Linked DNA regions of Homo sapiens: region 1 is linked to region 2. The links are contacts of gene promoters, found by promoter capture Hi-C in human tissues and cell types (Jung and others, 2019). All regions are on one chromosome and are shown on one strand. Each heading gives the region's core, a stretch centred on a gene start or on the middle of the fragment in contact. The rest is flanking DNA. Distances are from core to core; before and after follow the strand shown. Region 1 overlaps RUVBL1 (RuvB like AAA ATPase 1). Region 2 holds the start of EEFSEC (eukaryotic elongation factor, selenocysteine-tRNA specific).

Region 1 (6,199 bases), core at 1,412-3,911, 38 kb before region 2:
CTGGCTTGAGTCCAAAACCTTTTCAGTGGATAGTCATCTCTAATGGCAAAATAAGACTTCCAGGAAAATATGACTCATTAAAAAAACACTTTTAGACACATCTATTTATTGCATGAAGAAGCGCAGGCTCACAGCTAGGGTCCATAGTTGCTCCAATTGCTAACGCACTTCAATGAGAAAAACTGGGGTTTTGTTTTATTTGAAAAATAATGCACTACTAAGTGCCAAAAGAAAAACAGCAGTGCCACGAATACCAGTCATAAAGGCATCTTCACCACAAAGAGGCTTCGGTGCACAGGCTTCAGGAAGTGAGACCAACTCCTCCCACAAATGTGACACTACTTACCAATGGCCCTGCGGAAGTTCTCCATCAGCACCTCTGTCTTCTTGATCTCAGTTGAGTAAACTTCACTCCCCACCATTGGGCAGAAGGGGACCTTACTACCCAGCTCCTGAGCAATAGCCAGAGCCAGAGCTGTCTACAAAAGAAAGCAACGGAAACACAGTTCACAGTCCTGAAAACATGACAGTTCAGAAACACATGCTACAGAACCACCAGGAACTAGGAACAGCTGAACATCTAGTCCTACCATTTAGCATGTTTCACACAATAAATGTTTGATGACTTTTGTGGACAGTCAATTTAAATCATAAATGGCATCTCTTATCTTCCCTATAATTACAAGTTATCATTCACTCAGACTTACCCAGTGCAGGCCCAACTCCAAATGCCTCACATGATCCTCACAACCAGCCTATGAAATAGACACTAGTATTCTCCCCATTTTACACATGAGAAACTGAGAGACATTAAGTAATGCAACGTAAGTACCATAATCTAGAAAATGGCAGCGCAGATTTAATCTCTGGCAGCAGGACTCCAAAGATCATGTTATCATAATTAGAAGAGTCTACTCTTCAGTATCCACAGGGATACCAAAATCCATGGATGTTCAAGTCCTGGTATAAAATGGCAGGGTATTTGCATATAACCTATGCACATCCTCCTGTTACTTTAAATCATCTCTAGATTACATACAATACCTAATATAAATGCTATGTAAATAGTTATTATATTGTATTTTTAAGTATGTATTATTTTTGTTATTGTATTTTTATTTTTTATTGTTTTTTTCCTGAGTATTTTTGATTTGTGGTTGGCAGAATCCACATACGTGGAACCCACAGATAGGAAGGGCCAACTTTACAGTCATCCAAAATTGTTCTCTCAATATCAATATATGGCTCTGACCTAATTGCTCCGAATACACCACTGGATCTTTGAGATACCTGCTTTCTCTTTTTACAAATACAGGAAAACACCAATCTACAACCCATCAGAAATAATGAAGGAATGAATGAATGGATTGTTCATTTTATGTTATGTAGCCCACAAAGAGTGAAGAAGGATACCTCAAGTAGGATTTTGAAGCTATGAGTTGGTCTTAACAAGTTACACTTAAACACGCCCTGTGGTAAACTACAAATTGATTTTTGACAAGATAATTACAGCTGGCAAATGCTAAACAGAACCAGACTTCACAGGTGTACGGTCAAATGTCAAGTATGGCAAGCAAATGCTTTAAAGTTGGTACAGAACTGGGCAATGCCATGGCCTCTAAATGCCATTTTCATCTTTCCTCAACTCTGAAACAGGAGCACGAGTAAGGCCAGCTCCCCAGGTATATGGGCTAAGACTGAAAACAAGCTTGTTACTGAAGAACAAAGTGAAACTGAGACGGTGTCTTAAAATTAACAGTCAAGGTTCCTCTCAGATTTTCTTTTCTATGCCCTTTTGGTGATAGTTTTGAGGTAGTAAAATCTGGTAGAGAATCAGTGTATAGCACAGTATAAAATGCACTAGCCAGGAACAGAAAGATTAGTGCTGGTTCTGCCACTAATTTTCAGTGTGACCTTGGGCACTCAGCAAATCTCAGGTGCCCGATTTCCTCATCTGTCAAATGAAAGTACTAAAGTGCCATGCTAGATCACAAGTGGCAAACTCGTTGCTCACAGCCTGGTTCTGTTTGGCCTGCAGTCTCATGGTGACCTTCAGCAAGGCCGAGCACCTGGGGCTCAAGGCAGACACGCCACAGTGCACCCAGCCACTTCCCTCATCCCCGTTGCCTGCCTCATTAGGCATCTGCACTTGTGAGCTCAAGGCTGACACCTTGAAAACTGGTATTCTTCTAAGAGCAAAGGAAAAAAATCTCTGGAACATGAAAGGGCACAATGAGAGGAGCAGCACTCTAACAGCAGACTCCCCGTGGGGCCACAGGCTGGACAGGACCACCCCTTCCCAGTTACTCCTTTCTCTTCCTTGTATCTCTGCCAGCCCCAATTCCCTACCCTCAGTTTTGAACTTCAAAGACAGTGACCACATCCAATTCAATGGCACTCTCCCTCCCTTTAACTAATACAGAAGAGATGAACATACTTCCATTAAAATATGATAAATACTTGGTTAAAAAAAAAAAGCTTCATGTGTGTCTCGTTTCCTCCATTTAAAGACTTCCAGAGGGAAAGTATATGATATGGCTACTATTCCTACACCTACTACAGAGTGCTGCATAGACCTCATCGAATCTCCCCAACTAGCCTATGACCTTGATCATCTAGTTTGTATTTTATAGATTAAGAAACAAACTCAAAAGTTACCAACACACCCAAGGTAAAACCGCAAGCAGCAGCACCAGGATGCAAACCCCAATCTCCAAAGCCATTTTTTTTTGTACTCACCCCATGTGAGTGACAAGTGGCACAAAAAAGAGGTTGTTGCCAAAAGAAGGTTGAAGAAATCTCTATTTTTCAATCTCATCTGAATATCTCCTTCTTCTAAAACCCAAACCCATTATTAACAGTGTGAGGTCCTCAAGAGTGGAAATGCATATGAACCATGCATTTGCATCTCTAAAATAAGCAGTATTTCTGCCTGTCACCCAGGTAAGTTGCCTAAACTTTGGGACCCTGCAGCAAACCATTAAGCAGAAGTCACCAAATTCCTTCATACACATTGGAAGGGAGTGGACAAACTTATAAGGTAATACCACAGTGCTGAGCACTTCTCATATTTCCTGGGAGGAAAGCAATACAATATCACCAAAAAAAATGAAAGACATATGCTTCTAGCAATATGGCACACTGGGTCCACTGAAAACCTCTCCTCTTACAAAACACCTAGAATTGAATAAATAATAACATTCAGAGCAGTAAACTATTTGCCTTGAAAGTTCAGAGACTGTAGATACAGGAAAGCTCAGCAAGGTATAGCACTTAAGATAGAAACCCCTGAATAAAACCGGGACTGGGCACGGTGGCTCAAGCCTGCAATCCCAGCACTTTGGGAGGCCGAGGCAGGTGGATTGCTTGAGCCCAGGAGTTCAAGACCAGCCTGGGCAAAATGGCGATACCCCATCTCTACGAAAACTACAAAAATTAGCCAAAGCGTGGTGGTGTGCACCTGTAGTCCCAGCTACTCAGGAGGCTGAGGTGGGAGGACCACCTGAACCCAAGAGGTAGAGACTGCAGTGAGCCGAGATCACTGCACTCCAGCCTGGGTAACAGACCACTGCACTCCAGCCTGGGCGACAGACTGAAACTGTCTCAAAAAACAAACAAACAAACAAAAACATTACAATTAAAAAAAAAACATAAAAGAGGACTCTTGAAGGGCCACACATGAGTAAAAAAGGTGGGCCATAACAAAATACATCTGGGGGCCAGGCACAGTGGCTCACGCCTGTAATCCCAGCACTTTGGGAAGCCAAGGCAGGTGGATCACCTAAAGTCAGGAGTTCGAGACCAGCCTGACCAACATGATGAAACCCCATCTCCACTAAAAATACAAAAATTAGCCAGGCACCTGTAATCCCAGCTACCCAGGAGGCTGAGGCAGGAGAATCGTTTGAACCTGGGAGGCAGAGATTGCAGTGAGCCAAGATCACGCCACTGTACTCCACCCTGGGCAAGAGAGCGAGACTTCATCTCAAAAAAAAAAAAAAAAGACATTATAACTTGTAACAATTTATGCAGTGTGTAATCTTTGATTGCATTTTGATATTCTGGTGTTTTTTAAAAAGCCAAAAACTGAAACAACTTGGAAAGATGTTTTCTGATTTCTATCACCTATATTTTCTTTTCATTAAAACAATTTAACTTCGTTGTCTTTGAAAGCACATTTGTTAACTGCTCATGGAATCATATGATGAGCTGCCAGGCTCCCTCATCTTTGTGATTTCTCTACCACAGTGGATATGGTTACCTACTCCTTTCTTTAAAGGTTCTCCTTTCTTGGTTCCTGAGACACCATTCTCTCCCTGGCTCTGCTGCTCATTTTTTAAAAATTAATTAATTTAATTTTTAATTGACAAAAATTGGGGGAATATAATAGCATTAGCAAGGTGGGTCTGATGATGGCACCGTGGTCATGTAGGAAGACATCCTTACAACTTACTGTCAAGTGGTTCAGAAATAAACTAGAGAAAAAGCAAATGTCACAAAATATTTATAACTGGCTATCTAGGTATAGGGTATAGAGGGGCTCATCACACTATTCTTTCAAGTTTTTTGTAGGTTCCAAACTTTTCAAAATGAAAAGGAAAAAAATATTCAATAGATTGGATTAATCAGTCACTTAATCATAGCTTAAGAGACAATTAGACTGGAACAAAGATCTAAAAGAAATTACCCATAATTTAGCAGAGTCAAAAAGATAACAAATATGAGAGGCTAAAAGACAAAGAGGACAAAACGAGAAGCTCTAGCCCAGGGTTTCTCAGCTTGACTCCATGACGTTTGTGGCCAGATAATTCCTTATTATGGAAACTGCTCTGTGCACTACAGGATGTTTAGTAGCATCCCTGGCCTCCACCCACTAGATGCCAGTAGCACCCCCAACCAAGTCGTGAGAACCAAAAATGTCTCCAGACGTTGTCAAAGTCCCCTGCAAGGGCAAAACTGCCCCAGGTTGAAAACCACTGCAATCTTAACCTCATCTCAGTGGAGTTCCAGAAGGAAAGAACAAAGAGAATGGGGAAAGGCAATAGCTGAAGAGATTAACGCTGACAGTTTTTTTGTTTTTTTTTTTTTTGAGACGTAGTCTTGCTCTGTCACCCAGGCTAGAGTGCAATGGCATGATCTTGGCTCACTGATACCTCTGCCTCCCAGGTTCAAGCGATTCTCCTAAGGCTGACAATTTTCCAGAATTGAGCAGAGACATAATACTCAGATTCAAGAAGCACAATTAGCATTAAGCATGATAAACAAAAATTAATCCACTCTGACATATAATAGTGAAACACCAAACCCAAAAATATCTCAAAAACATGCAGAAAGAAGACTCAAAACCCTCAAAATTAGACTTCTCAAAAACAACAGAAGCCAAAGGAGCAAATAACATTGAGAGAGAAGTACTGTGAAACAGTACTGAAGAAAATATCTGTCAACTGAATTATATAGCCAACATAGCTCTTTTTCAAAACAAGGGCAACATAATGAATGCAAACGTGAGAGACTTTCCCACCAACAAACTTCTAGAAGAAATTTCTAAATTATTTACTTTAGGAAGAAGAAAAATGGAGGGAAAGAGAAGGTCTAAGATATAAGGAATAGCAAGCAAATAAATGGTAAATGCACTGGACAAGCTAATGTTGCCTGGAGAGAGGTAACTGAAGCTCACATCTGTATGGCACTTTACAGTTTAAAAAACTGTTCACAATTTGCTTTTATATAGGAAGAGAAAAAACTGTTCACAAATATAGCACTTCTTCCTCTTGTAAGATACCAATATAAGATACACAATCAGTAATCATTTCAAAATTATAATGCAAGTCATTATCTTACAATCGATCAGTTTAATAATTGCTTGAAATAGGTAGAGTATGCTTTTGCTTAGAAAAGTTAAGGGACCTGCCTCAGGTCTCATAGCAAGTCAATACTAGAGCTGGAATTTAAAGCCCATTTCTTTTCACACACAACCCCAAGCTCCTACTTGCCCACATCAAGCGGCCCTTTTGAAGAATAAGCAAGCTCAAATTGGGAACTCTGGTGAGTTTCAAGTATCTGGCCAGTCCCCTCACGAATCCCAAGAAGCCACACGGTGTCCTCTGCCTGAAAGGCCCTTATCTTCCCTGCAAAGCCAAATCCTCTCCCAGCTCTGAAGGGAAAATGTCAAGTCTCAACCCTTCCAGCTGTACCAGCC
Region 2 (5,885 bases), core at 1,925-4,424:
TTCTCTAGAGGGACAGAACTAATGGAATATACATGGAATATATATATATCTCCTAAGCCCAGGCTACAGACTCTCAGGGTGAGAATTTCTGAGTCAGAGATAATGTTGTCCTCTTCCATCTTGGAATATGTATACATATATGTATATATATTCCATATATGTGTATATATATTCCATTATATATATATATATGTATGTTCCATTGTATGGAATATACATCCATATGTATATATGTATGTTCCATATGTATATATGTATATTCCATATATATATTCCACAGAATATATATATTTGACAGAACTAATAGAATATATATTCTATGTATATATTCTATACATATATTCTATACATATTCTATACATATATTCTATATATATTCTATATATTATATATTCTATATATATTCTATATATTATATATTCTATATATATTCTATATTATATATTCTCTATATATTCTATATATTATATATTCTATATATATTCTATATATTATATATTCTATATATTATATATTCTATATATTATATATTCTATATATATTCTATATATTATATATTATATATATATATTCTATATATATATTCTATATATATAATATAATATTCTATATTATATATATAATATATTCTATATATTATATATATTATATATTCTATATATTATATATTATATATTCTATATATATTATATATATTATATTATATATTATATATATAATATATATTCTATATTCTATATATTCTATATATATTATATGTTCTCTATATATTCTCTATATATCTATATATTCTATATATATTCTGTATATATTCTATATATATTCTATATATATTCTATATATTCTATATATATTCTATATATACTCTATATACATTCTATATATACTCTATATATTCTATATATACACTGTATATATTCTATATATATATACTCTATATATCTATATATAAAATCTATATATATTCTATATATAGATATATAAACTATATCAAGTGATCTGCCTGCCTCAGCCTCCCAAAGTGCTGGGATTACAGGCATGAACCACCGTGCCCAGCCAAACCTTTTTTCTTTTCATTACCATTTCAGGATTCTGTTTAAAACAGAGGTAAGAAATGAGGTTTATTTGAAGCCAGGCCCTGTACAAAGTCTTTGTTAGTTGAAATATTTCTCAGAGGTACATAAAGCCTCTAAAGCTCTTATTACCTATTTACTAACCCTCCCTTTTAAATACGTTTACTGCTTTTACTACTAGATTTTTTTTAATGGGAGGCGTATTTTTACAGTTTCCTATTTGCAAGGTGGGAAAACGGAAACAAAGATTCTGTTCTCTTCTTGTAAGGACCCTAATCCCATCACAAGGGCCCGCTCTCATGATCTCATCTAACCTCCCAAACGTCCCATCTCCAAATACTATCACACTGGGGGTCAGGGTGTCCACATATGAATTTGAGAGGGACACAATTCAGTCTATGACATGGACTCTGTTCCTAGTGGAGAGTGGTGGAACGAAGGAGGCAGTTACTGCAAGCATGAATACATCCGCACATGGTCTGGCTCATCACAGAGGGCAAAGGTAAGATCCTGTGAACTTTGTGCTCCACCGCCACAGTGTTACAAAAACACTCTCTTCTCCAGAAAAATGGAAGGAGGAGGCAATGTTGGGCTAGCATTCCTGCCTGGTATCACTGGCTGAGACTGAGCAGTGGCTTCCCTCTTTGCACAGGAAAAGGGCTCTCCAGGTCTCCCAGGTCCCCACCACTCCCTGTCATCTTAGACTCTTTTAACTTCTCTTCTTTGATTTACCCACCACCTGGCCAGAGCAGACACTTAGGTTTGTTACCTCTGGTTGGTGACTATGGCTGACAACCTTTTTTGTGGTTCTAGACACTTCAGAATCTAGTGAGAGTTGTCGACCCTCTGTCTAGCAAGAGCACATCACAACACATTGTGCGTTCAATTTAGAGGTTTGTGGCCTCTCCTAAGCCCAGGCTACAGACTCTCAGGGTGAGAATTTCTGAGTCAGAGATAATGTTGTCCTCTTCCATCTTCAAACCATCTTTTCCCATGGTTGGCTCCTTCTCAACACTGGAGTTTCAACTCAAACAGCAACTCCTAGATGTCTTCCCTGACCCACAGTTAGGTAGCTGTCCATCCTCCCTCTCCTGCTCCTTTTTATCTCAGCTTTTATTTTCCCTAGGAGACTTCTCGCTCTCTGAAATGGTCTGGTTCAGGCTGTATTGTTTGACTTAGCCCTCACCCCCTGAATGTAATATTAGCGGGCACTGTAGCCCAGCGGAACCCACCAGGCACTTGGTAAGATCTTGCTGAAATGTATGAATGATTGGAAGTGTGTCCGGAGTTGGTTTCTTCCAGTGGGTTCCTAGTCTCGCTGACTTCAAGAATGGAGCCGCGGACCTTCGCAGTGAGTGTTAAAGCTCTTAAAGATGGCACAGTCCCAAAGAGTGAGCAGCAGCAAGATTTATTGTGAAGAGCAAAAAGCTTCTGCAATGCGAAAGGGCACCTGAGAGGGTTGCTGCTGCTGGCGGGGGTGGCCAGCTTTTATTCCCTTATTTGCCCCCTCCCCCACGTCCCCCCGCCCTCCCCCGCCCCCCGCCGTCCCCCCGCCCTCCCCCCCGCCCCCGTCTTCCCGCCCCCCCCGCCCCCGTCTTCCCCCCGCCCACCCCGCCCCCCCCGCCCCCCTTCGCCCCCCCATGTTCCGTTTTTGTCCTATCAGAGCGCCCTTTTTTCAATCCTCCCTGTGATTGGCTTCTTTTAGGATCCTGCTGATTGGTGCATGTTACAGAGCACTGATTGGTGCGTTTTACAGAGCGCTGATTGGTGCATTTTACAATCCTCTTGATAGCTATAGAAAAGTTCTCCAAGTCTCCACTCACCCAGAAAGTCCAAATGGCTTCACTTCTCAGAAGGATCCCTCCATCTCGGGCTCCTAGAGGCTTCAGGCAGGAGGAGCCACGTGAGAGAGAAACCCTGCCTACGGTGACCTCCAGTTCCTAGACCACCCACTCGGAGCACGGCGCTCGGCTGTGCCCGTGAGCCTCAGGAGGGCGGAAGCTTCCGGGCCGGAACGGGTGTGCACAGCGCGCCGGTTACGGGGGGGCAACTTAACGGGCCGGACCGCGGCGACTACCGAGGGAGGTGAGGGGCGGGCCGGGCGGGTGTCCGAGGCGGCGGCGGCGGCATGGCAGGGCGGCGGGTGAACGTGAACGTGGGCGTGCTGGGCCACATCGACAGCGGCAAGACGGCGCTGGCGCGGGCGCTAAGCACCACAGCCTCCACCGCCGCCTTTGACAAGCAGCCGCAGAGCCGCGAGCGCGGCATCACGCTCGATCTGGGCTTCTCGTGCTTCTCGGTGCCGCTGCCCGCGCGCCTGCGGTCGTCTTTGCCCGAGTTCCAGGCAGCGCCCGAGGCCGAGCCCGAGCCCGGCGAGCCACTGCTTCAGGTCACGCTGGTCGACTGCCCCGGGCACGCCTCCCTCATCCGGACCATCATCGGCGGTGAGCGCGGGCCGGGGCGGGAGCCGGGCTCAGGGACGCGGGCGGAGCGACCGGGCCCCGTGTCCGAATTCGCTCGAGCCTTTGCCGGGACGGGAAATCGCCCCACCTCATTGGTGGGGCTCCTGACGCCCCAAGAGGCGGACGTGACTTGCCTAGGGCTCCGCAGCAAGTGAGCGGAGGCTTTGAGATTCAGCTTTTCCCATCCAGCAGAACCGAGCTGCAAGGCGCCTTCCTTAAAAAAAAAAAAAAAAAAAAATCAAAAAATCCCTACCAAATGTGTTTATAATACATGGTCAAGTAAAGAAAACTCAAAATAAGAAAACTCACAAGCTACAAAAAGGGTATACATACAAAGGCTGTCTTCATTCACCTGTCATTTGGTCTGATTCCCGTTCCTAGAGCCAACCGCTGCTACCAGTTTTTGTATATCATTTCAGAAAGGCTCCACGTCAATACAAGCATATCTGTGTGTATGTATAAATCCCTCTTTCCCTCATCCTTTTAGACACGATTTCACTCAACATTGTGTCTGGAGAGTGCCCCATATCTGTACACAAAGCTACATCATTCTTTTTAAAGCTCACATAGAATTCAACTGCACCCTTGTACCAACATTTTCTTTTTCTTTTTTTTTTTTTCTTTTTGAGACAGAGTCTTGTTCTGTCGCCCAGCCTGGAGTGCAGTGGCACGATCTCGGCTCACTGCAACTTCCGCCTCCTGGGTTCAAGCGATTGTCCTGCCTCAGTCTCCTGAGTAGCTGGGATTACAGGCGCGCGCCACCACGCCCGGCTAATTTTTTTGTATTTTCAGTAGAGACGGGTTTCACCATGTTGGTCAGGCTGGTCTCAAACTCCTGACTTCATGACCCGCCCGCCCTGGCCTCCCAAAGTCCTGGGATTACAGGCGTGAGCCACCACGTCCGGCCTGTACCAACATTTTCTGAACAAATCTTTTAATGATGGACGTTTATGCTGTTTCCAGTATTTACAAACCATTTTGCAGTGAATATTCTAGAACAGAACTCTTTGGTATGTTCGCATATATGTAGGATAATAGATAATAACTGGCTGGGGCAAGGGGCATGTGTGTTTTCGGTCGTGGTGGGTACTGCCAAAATGCCCCACAAAGAGGTACCATTAATTTTTAATTATACATGTAATACATGAATACATGCTACTTGTGAAGAAATAGAACATCACAAATAAGACAAACATTCCCTTACCCACTCCTCTGTCCTAAATTCTGTACCCCTCCTATCTCTGCAAATGAAAAGACCCGTTTTTTGTTTTTTTGTTTTTTTGTTTTTTTCTGAGATGGAGTCTCGCTCTGTTACCAGGCTGGAGTGCAGTGGTGCAATCTTGGCTCACTGCAACCTCTTTCTCCCCGGTTCAAGCGATTCTCCTGCCTCAGCCTCCCAAGTAGCTGGGACTACAGGTGCACATCACCACACCTGGCTAATTTTTATATTTTTAGTAGACATGGGGTTTCACCATATTGGCCAGGATGGTCTTGATCTCGACCTCGTGATCCCCATGCCTCGGCCTCCCAAAGTGCTGGGATTACAGGTGTGAGCCACTGTGCCTGGCTGAAAAGACCATTATTATACCTTTGTGGATTACTTTTCCAGACCCATTTAACTCCACTTAAATATATGGATAGAGTTTTAAAACATGTTTTGTTTTTAGAAAAAATGATACAATAATATAAACACATGGTATAAAAGGGTATATAGCTAAAGAAGTATACTTCTCACTGCTGACCCCAGTACCTGATTACCTTTCTGTTCCCATTTTCTTGTGTTTCCTTCCAGCAATATTCTGTATGCCACACATGGGAATATATATTGGGCAGATGATAATTGGCTTGGTGGCAGATGGCCTCATTGGTCACTGGGCATTCTGGGTCCCAGCTATAATGGTGAGCTTGTTAAGTACAGTACTTCATCTTTGTTACCTCCCAACTGTTTCATGTTACAGGCAGTCTGAGATCATTTCCCCATTTTACAGTAGAGGAAATAGAAGTTTGAAGAAGTGAAGGGACTTGCTCAGGGTCACACTATCTAAAGTCTTCTCCTCAATCCATGTTTCAGTCAGGTGAATTTCAAGGGGCACACAATTCTCTACCCATTCCTCCCTGCCCCCTTATAACTGAATTCTGTTTGGTCACATCAAAGTACATTTTAGAACATGGACTCTGAGCCAGTCCAGACTGGAGGTGGAAGGCAGAGGTTAAAAAATGAGATGGCGAGTTTTTAGTGTTGTCTAGTAAATAGGGTAGATGAGTGGTGAAGGACATACTTTTGGAGTCAGACAAAACTGGGCTTGAAGCCTAGCTTGCTTTCTTCCTTAGCTGTATGACGTTTGAACCT

Evidence for each region. Contacts are between HindIII fragments. The study calls those that stand out against the background at their distance.
Region 1: a fragment that was not itself captured here is called in contact with the fragment with the promoter of EEFSEC in region 2 in 2 of the 25 tissues and cell types used here (H1 embryonic stem cells and liver).

The regions. Positions count from the first base shown.
Region 1 is chr3:128,112,542-128,118,740 of GRCh38, forward strand. It overlaps RUVBL1 (RuvB like AAA ATPase 1), which reads right to left. Exons shown (of 11, transcript NM_003707.3): 3 at 347-479. Among named protein-coding and RNA genes, the nearest start is that of RUVBL1, 8.2 kb to the right of the region's middle. The HindIII fragment of the contact is 4,437 bases long and covers 444-4,880 here.
Region 2 is chr3:128,150,307-128,156,191 of GRCh38, forward strand. It overlaps EEFSEC (eukaryotic elongation factor, selenocysteine-tRNA specific), which reads left to right and starts at 3,175. Exons shown (of 7, transcript NM_021937.5): 1 at 3,175-3,517. The coding sequence starts at 3,202. It also overlaps a transcript of RUVBL1 not described here. RefSeq lists an enhancer at 2,806-3,035 and a silencer at 3,166-3,685. The HindIII fragment of the contact is 4,118 bases long and covers 2,788-5,885 here.